2 separate regions of the Homo sapiens genome follow, and region 1 is linked to region 2. Evidence: promoter capture Hi-C in human tissues and cell types (Jung and others, 2019). All regions are on one chromosome and are shown on one strand. The core of a region is centred on a gene start or on the middle of the fragment in contact, and the rest is flanking DNA. Distances in the headings are between cores, read along the strand shown.

Region 1 (4,111 bases), core at 1,577-4,076, 44 kb after region 2:
CTCAGTGAGGTGGATGGAGAGGCCAGAAGGAGGATGGAGTGGGAAGGTGGCCTTTCCCTGGAGTCAGGCCACCCAGTGGCCGGGCCCTCCTCCGACTGGCCTCTGCTGAACTCCGTGTCGTCCCGTCATAGATGGCCTGCCGGCGTCTGCTGGTGTCTGCCCGTGTGTTCTTCTGCTGTTGAGTTCCTCTCGATGTCCAGCTGCTCGTGTCCGTGCCCACTAGGGTCTCAGGATGTTTAAAGGCACAGGATGGGGTGTGTGGCAGGCCAGGGTGGTCTTGGAAATGCCACATTTAGCCACAGAAACAGAAATACCTGTCCTCACCTAGGTCAGTGGGCACAGGCCTGAGGGTAGAGCCTTTGCCAGGGACCCTGCCTTTCTCTACCCAGCACTTTCCTGCCTCCCTCCTGTATCACTCCCACATCCCTCCTCACCCTGGACCTCCCTTTCAGGGGGTCCGTGCCTCCGTCTGAGAAGCATAGCTCCAGGCATCTCAGGTGTTGCTGAGTTTCCACCATGATGGCATCACCCTCTGCCAACCTGGAGGTAAGATCCTGATGTGGCATTAGAAAGCCAGGGGCAAGGTGGGCAAGTGGCAGATGTGTGGAGGAAGTTTCAGTGCCCTGGCATCCATGATTGCCTTTCAAGTTTTCTAGAAGCGTCCATAGCCTCAGTTATTCTGATATGGTGATGTTAAAACCTGCCTACACCTAGGGTGTTTATGACTGACAACAGCTTAGAGAGTGACCCGTCCCAGGGCCCTGGCATCTTCTCTGGGGTCAGAACTTTGAGCGACAGGAATGAACAACAGGGCATTCCAGACGCCCTCAGCAGAGTGCAAGTCTCTGCACCTGAGCTCTCCAGGGCAGGAGTGAGGTCACCTTGCGCCAGTGGAGGTGAGGTGGATGGTAAAAGAATATAGGAGGCCCTTCCATATTTGGAGCAAACTCCAAATATGGAAATATGGAAAAATCCAGACATAAGAAACAAGCATCAGAGTTTTGTTTTTAGATTCATTAAAAATTTTTAATAACTAAAGTTATTGAATTCTCCCATAACTAAAATCTCCACAGCTTTTGAAAATAGTGTTCTAGGTACAAAAATTAGATTTCTCAAGGAGTACTTACTGTGCAGAACATGGCCCACCCCAGCAATATTATTAATTATAATAGAAACAAGCTTATTACTCAGGTGCTGACTCATATTTACAAGAGATTTTGAAGTTTTATAGGTCTGACCTTTGAGTTGTCAATTTTTGAGGACCTCACAATAGTCTCTCATGGCTTTCAGAGTGGGGGAAGCCTGTCACATCAAAGCCTAGCCAGATGAAATGAAGAATATTTTATAGGGACACTGAGTCCTTTTGAGCTTGGCTAGGGACAAAACCCACTCAGTAGAAATTAGTCAACAAGTCTATACTGAGTACTTACTGGGTCCTCAGCCAGATTATATATGTGAAACGTATATAATCAAGGTGACAGTATTTTCTAAACAGAAAACTCACGGTTTTTAGTATAACAAAAGATCTTTATGTCATTTATTGGTGCTAAGAGATAGTCTGGGAGATGCAATTTGGACCTCAAATATAGAAAAATATGGGCCAATTTATGCATTCATTTGAATAAAAGAGAATATGTGAAATTATGATTGTCCAAGTATGCATGGTCCTTTGTTCAACAAAAACTGCCCAGGGTTCAGCACAAAGATGAAAGCTGCAGTCCTTGCCTCAAAGAGCTCACTGTCTAGTCAGAGATGGATGTGCAAATCAACAACAATCAGGGGATAGATGTGAAAACAAAATTCAGGAGAGTGAATAAGGAGTGCTAAGTCTTGTCTGGGACTCAGGGATCGCTTCTCAAAGCAGGTAACTTGAACTGAACAGAGAAGGATCAGTAGACGTTTGCTAAGCAAACTTGGGTCAAGAAATATTCCAGACAGGAAATAGAATGTCTGAAATATGGGGGAATTGGACCATGCATAGAGAATGACAAGAAAATTCAGTATGGTTAGAATGGTGGGTGGCCATAGGATGGGGTGAGGGATGAGAGGCGAGAAATAAGACTGAGGTGAGATCATAAGTAGTTCTGTATACCATGTTCATAATTTATTGTAATTTTTATGTTTTTTTTGAGACAGGGTCTCACTTTGTCTCCTGGGCTGGAATGCAGTGGCATGATCTCGGCTCACTGTAGCCTCAACCTTCTGGGCTCAAGCAATCCTCTTGCCTCAGCTTCCTGAATAGCTGGGACTACAGGTATACGCCACCACACCTGGCTAATTTTGTTTGTTGGTGGAGATGGGTTTTTGCCATGTTGCTCAGGCTGGTCTTGAACTCCTGAGCTCAAGCAGTCTACCTGTCTTGGCCTTCCAAAGTGTTAGGATTACAGGTGTGAACCACTGTACCCGGCCTCATGTACGTAATTTAGATGCTATTATCTAAGTCAAGTGCTATCAAATCATTTTAGCTCCAAGCCCCGTTCTTCAAATAAAAATCTGAGAAGTGCAATATAGAAATCGGATCAATGAGAAACTGCCCTGTGGGAGTCTCTCTCTCTGTCTCTCTGTGTGTGTGTGTGTGTGTGTGTGTGTATGTGTGTGTGAAGGGGGAGTTCACAAGCCCCCTGGCAGCTTGACCACTTCCACATCCCTACTGGAAGTTCTAGAAGAATTTCCACAGAAAACACTTTGGAAACCACTGATTTAGGAATTGGAGAGTAGCTGATAAATTCTGAGGAGGGAGAATTAGGTATTTTGAAAGATTACTCTTGAGGTTTTATGACTGGTTGCTGTAAAAGGAGTGTGGCTGATACCAAGAGATAAGCACAAAAGTTCAGGTGAGATAGCAAGAGGACAAATTGGAGCTCTCATTGTTGAGAAAAGAGGCCTTGATAAACACACCACCCTTTCAGCTTTGACCCTTGCAGGGCTAGATCAGCTTCATAAACACTCACATCCAATTTGGAATCATATCATTCCCAGACTGATCTATGATAATCTGCTTCTACTCTAACTGCCTGACAGGAGGAAAAGCAAATTTCTCTGAAAGAAGAGAACATCTTGTACAACCTCAAAATATTACATTTTCAAATATAGTATCTGTCACTCAATCAAAGACAACCAAACATGCAAAAAGATAAAATTGAGTGAGAATCAAGAGAAACACAGATGATAGATACAAATTCATGAAAAAGCCACATAGTAAAGTTACCAGACATAGACTTTAGGTTAACTGTTATTTATAAGTTTAAATGTGATTAATAAATGACCTGATGGATAATTTCAATGGAGAATTAGATATGATAAAAAGAATCAAACAGTCATTCTATAATGTAAATAAATAACTTAGTAGATGAGTTTAACAGCACAGTGGGCACAGCTGAAGCAAGAATTAGTAAACCAGAATGCAGGTCAGAAGAAAATATCCAGACTGATGCACAGCGAGACAAATAGTGAAAAATGTATAAAATCTAAAAGAGAATATGGGACATGGAGAAATGGCCTCTAACATATGCATAATCGGAAACCCAGAAAGACAGGAGAAAGAGAAAAGAGGTAGGAGTAATACATAAAGAGATATTGACCAATAATTTTTGGAGACAAATGAAATGAGACAAGCGCAACTTGCATGAGTTACAAATTCCAATTAGAATAAATAAAAAGGGAATGATATGAACTGATAAACATACTATGGTTTATTTATCATGGGAACTCTCTGTACCTTCTGTTTAATTTTGCTGTTAACCTAAAACTGTTCTTAAAAGTAGTCTATTAAAAAAAAAGATCCCTCACTTACGAAAAAGGAAACTAGGCCTACACTCACAGACAAACAACTGAAAACCAAAGGACAAAAGGAAATATTATATGTAGCCAGATAAAAAGGACATATTCATTTCAAAATAACATAAATAAGACCTATCACTAACTTTCAACAGAAAAATGGAAGCCAAAGGACAACAGAATGACACTTTGAAAGGACTGAAAGAAAATAGCTGACAATCTACAATTCTATACCCAACAAAAGTATCCTTCAAACACAAACATAAAATAAAGACACTTCCAAAAAGCAAAAACAGATAATTTGTTAGCAGCATATCCTTACTAAAGAAAATAA
Region 2 (4,085 bases), core at 437-2,936:
CACCATCTGTCAGGGCACTCAAAGTTTAGCCTACGACCTTCCAGACGCAGAGGCCGGAGGCAGAGGCTGGAGCTCAGAGGGTCACCTGCTCCCACCGCGGAGATGCCCAGCTGGGCGCTGCCCGGCCTCCCCCGCCGCCCCCGACGGGCCGCGTCCGCTGCCAGGGCGGCCCAGCCCCTCACCCAGGGGCGGCCGCCGCCAGAGCCACCCCCTCCCCGTCCAGGCCCGCAGCCCTCTGGGCAGGCCTTTCTGGGGCTGCCGCACCGTGCCACGGATGCCTTGCTACGTGACCTTGGGGCCGGCAGGGCGGGTCGCCGCCAGGTGTCTGTGCCTCAGTGTCTCCGTTCTGCGAAATGGGAGAGCCGCGTCAGCGCCGCGCCCGGGCCGGGGAAGGCTCCGCGGGGCCGAGCTCTGCGGAAAACGTGCCGGCGGCTACCCCGACGGACGCAGCGCGGGCCCCGCAGGGAGCGAGCGCGCCTCCGGGCGCCCCACCTCGGGGCCGCGTGTGTGCCGGGCCGGGCGTGAGAGCAGCCTCCCTCGCACGGACGGCGGCGAGGCCCGTAGCCCTCCCCCACCGCCCGGGTCAAGACGCGCGGGCCCCCTCCAGGGCGCCCCCACCCCCCGCGCCAACGTCGTAGCGTTTCTGCCCCTTACCGAGATCCCAGGCCGGGCCGCCGAGCCCGGGACACGCAGGCCGTCCCCGGGGCCCCGAGGCCGCGCGTCCGTGCGCGCGCGGGCCGCCCTCACAGGAGCCGGGGCCGCCTCGGCCATGGCCCTGCGCTGTCCGGCCCGGGCCCCCGGAGTCGCCGCCGCTACTGCCGCCGCCGCTACTGCGCGCGGCCCCACGCAGGCCCGGCCGCCCGGCGCTCTCCGCAGGCGGCGCCGGCCCAGCCCTGTCTTCCCCGCCGGGGCTCGCGCGCGGCCGTCGGGCCCCGGCCTGCTCGGGGCGCGCGGGGCGAGCGGGCGCGGGGTCGCGGAGCCCGAGCGGCGGCGTCGGAGCTGGGCGCGCGGCTGTGCGGGCGGCCCGGCCGGCTGCGTCCCGGCGGCGAGCTGGGCCCCGGCCCTCAACGGCGGCCCCCGGCCCGCGCGCCGCCCCTCTGCGGCCGCGGCTGGGACCCCAGCTCCGGCCCCGGCCCCGGCTGCGAGCTGCGCTGCCGTCCCGGCGCCTCTTTAGCAGGGGAGCTGCACAGCAGCTGCCATGTTGCTACAAACTGCATCCTGGGAGGCATGTCCCTCTCAGGCCGTTTAAAGAGAAACACTCCGAGGCTCGTCGGAGGCTGCCGGAACCCAGACAGCTCCATCTACAGCCGGTAGGAGCGAACAGTGTCGAGCGAGCCGCCCGGCGGCGACGGACACGCCCTGAGCCCGGGCCAGCCCGTCGTGGAGCCCGGGCCGAACCGCCGGGGCCTCCCACCCTCCAGGACCCTCCGGCCTCTCACCTGGGGTCCTCGCCTGCCCAGGCACCCTCGGGCGAGGCCGGGAGGCGCGCGGGCGGAGGCGCAGTCGGAGCGCGCAGCCCAGGCGACGTGCTGGGGTCTGGAGGCGGCTTGATTGGCTCCGACAGCCTTCCTCCCGCCGATCCCCTGCGCCTCTCACACCCAGAACCCGGGGTCGTTCCCTTTCAAAACCTGCGCTCACAAAGGGATCTAAGAAACCCGTCACACCAGAGAAAGCCCGGAGTTCATGTGACCAGCTCAGTGCAGCCCGGGTTCCAGGGACGCGGGCTGTGCTTCCAAGGGGAGCCAGGGGGTTGGGTGCTTTTGTGAAATGCCCGAGTGTTGTTTTCGACATGAAAGGACCGAATTCCTAGAATCAGACCCTGCTGGGGCTGGAAGTGGCCAGACGGGTCATTTAGGAGGAAACTGAGGCCGAGTGGGCAGCGACTTGTTTACCCTCAGTCACAGTATGAATGAATGCTCTTTGTAACCATGAGAAGTCCCAAAAGAAATGCAGGAGCTTAGAGTTGAGAACTCCCCTTCCTGGACAGGTCCACTTAAACATGTATTAATTGAATACCTACGAGGTGGCGAGAACTGGGGATGAATTGAAAAGGAAAAAAAAAGAAGAAACTATAGGCAGGCGTCCTGGTTACTAGCGATGAAGCCCAACTGGAACTAACTTAAGTGAGGGAAGACGGCGGGGGGGAGCAGAGGACATTGTGTTTACCTAATGGAACCCCAGGAGTGGAGCTGGTCTTGGAAGGCAACAGGACTCAGTATGCTGGCAGCTCAGATAATGGAAAGTTATGGCCAGACGTGGTGGCTCATGCCTGTAATCCCAGCACTTTGGGAGGCTGAGGTGGGCAGATCACGAGGTCAAGAGATCGAGACCAACCTGGCTAACGTGATGAAACCCTGTCTCTACTAAAAATACCAAAATTAGCTGGACGTGGTGGCGCGGCCCTGTAGTCCCAGCTACTTGGGAGGCTGAGGCAGGAGAATCTCTTGAACCCGGGAGGCAGAGGTTGCAGTGAGCCGAGATCGCCCCACTGCACTCCAGCCTAGGGGACAGATCAAGACTCCGTCTCAAAAAACAAAAAAAAGGAAAGTTACAGATAGAGGTAAGGCCAGAGCTATGCATCCTGTCCCCTCCCTTCCCGGAGGCTAGAGTTCTCACCCAGGTCTTTATGCATTAACTAACATGTGTGCATTCGTAAACAATGCACACTACTGGTTTTGGTATTTTTACATTTTATGTGAATGATATTATCCAGTCCCTATCCTGTTGCAACTTGCTTTTTTCCATGGGTCATTTTGTTTTTGAGATACAGACATGTTTAAACAAGAATATCTGGTTCATTCATTTTACCCACAATATAGTATTTCATTGAATACATAAACTACAGTTTACGTTCCATTCCCCCTAGAGGAATGAGAACAAACCTGCTGCCAGCGACATCTGCATGCATGTCTCATTGTGCACTGCTAAAGTGCGTCTCTAGAGACGCCTAGACATGGGACTCTGGATGGCAAGAGCACCTTCATCTTTCCCCGGCTTCCCGAACTGCTCACTGAAGGGATGGTGCCTACTTACACACCCACTATCGTGTGATTTTCTCTTTCCCCATCCTGGCTCATACTTACTGATAATGGACTCAGAACGTTTGCCGACATGATGACTGTGAAATGGTAGCTCATTATTTTAATTTGTATTTGTATTTCCCTGATTAATGAAGTTGGACATCTTTTCATGTTTACTGACATTTGGTTTCTTCCTCTGTGAATTTCCTCTTCATATCATTTGCCAATGTTTCTGTTGTGAGATCTTTTTCTTATTGGCTTATAGGTATTTCATTAAAAATCTATTCTGGATCTTAATCATATCACCAAACATTTAATGTGATTACTAATACGATTGCATTTAAATCTACCATCTTACTAGTTATTTTCTGTGTGTTCCAGGTGTTCAGTGATACCTCTCTCTCTCTCTCTCTCTCTCCCCAACTGCCTGCTTTGAGGTTGAGGTTTTTTTTTTTAATTCTATTTTTATATTAGTATTCTATTTCTTAGTAATTTCTATTTTTCACCATTCTCTTACTAGTTACATATAATTTTAAATGGTTGTCCTCAGTTTTACAATATACATCTTTAATTTTCTAACAGTCTACATAAATTATGCCACTTCACATATGGTGTGATAACCTTACAACAGGTTATCCCTACCATCTTTTATACTGTTGTTAGCATACATTTTATGTTTATGTATATAATCTCCACAATACCTTGTTAGATGGGCAGATGGCAAATATCTTCTCCCAGCCTGTCTTTTAACATGTTTCATGGTAAGTGTTGCACAAACATTAAAATTATTTAAAGTATTATTTATATGCAGTGTAATGCACAGATTTCAAGTTTATGGCTTTTCTAGCTTTGACAAATGCAAAGACTTAAGTACTCCATACCTGCCATCAAGATATAAAACATTTCAGTCGGGCATGGTGGCTCATGCCTGTAATCCTAGCACTTTGGGAGGCCGAGGCAGGTGGATCACCTGAGGTCAGGAGTTCGAGACCAGCCTGGCCAACATGGTGAAACCCCATCTCTACTAAAAATACAAAAACTAGCTGGGCATGGTGGCGGGCGCCT

What was found. Contacts are between HindIII fragments. The study calls those that stand out against the background at their distance.
Region 1: a contact is called between a fragment that was not itself captured here and the fragment with the promoter of ZNF777 in region 2, in 1 of the 25 tissues and cell types used here (mesendoderm cells).

The regions. Positions count from the first base shown.
Region 1 is chr7:149,501,751-149,505,861 of GRCh38, forward strand. No RefSeq gene overlaps it. Among named protein-coding and RNA genes, the nearest start is that of ZNF746, 6.0 kb to the left of the region's middle. The HindIII fragment of the contact is 6,744 bases long and covers 1-4,111 here.
Region 2 is chr7:149,459,376-149,463,460 of GRCh38, forward strand. ZNF777 (zinc finger protein 777) reads right to left here and starts at 1,687. Exons shown (of 6, transcript NM_015694.3): 1 at 1,440-1,687. RefSeq lists silencers at 348-707, 718-797, 1,088-1,157, 1,328-1,667. The HindIII fragment of the contact is 12,669 bases long and covers 1-4,085 here.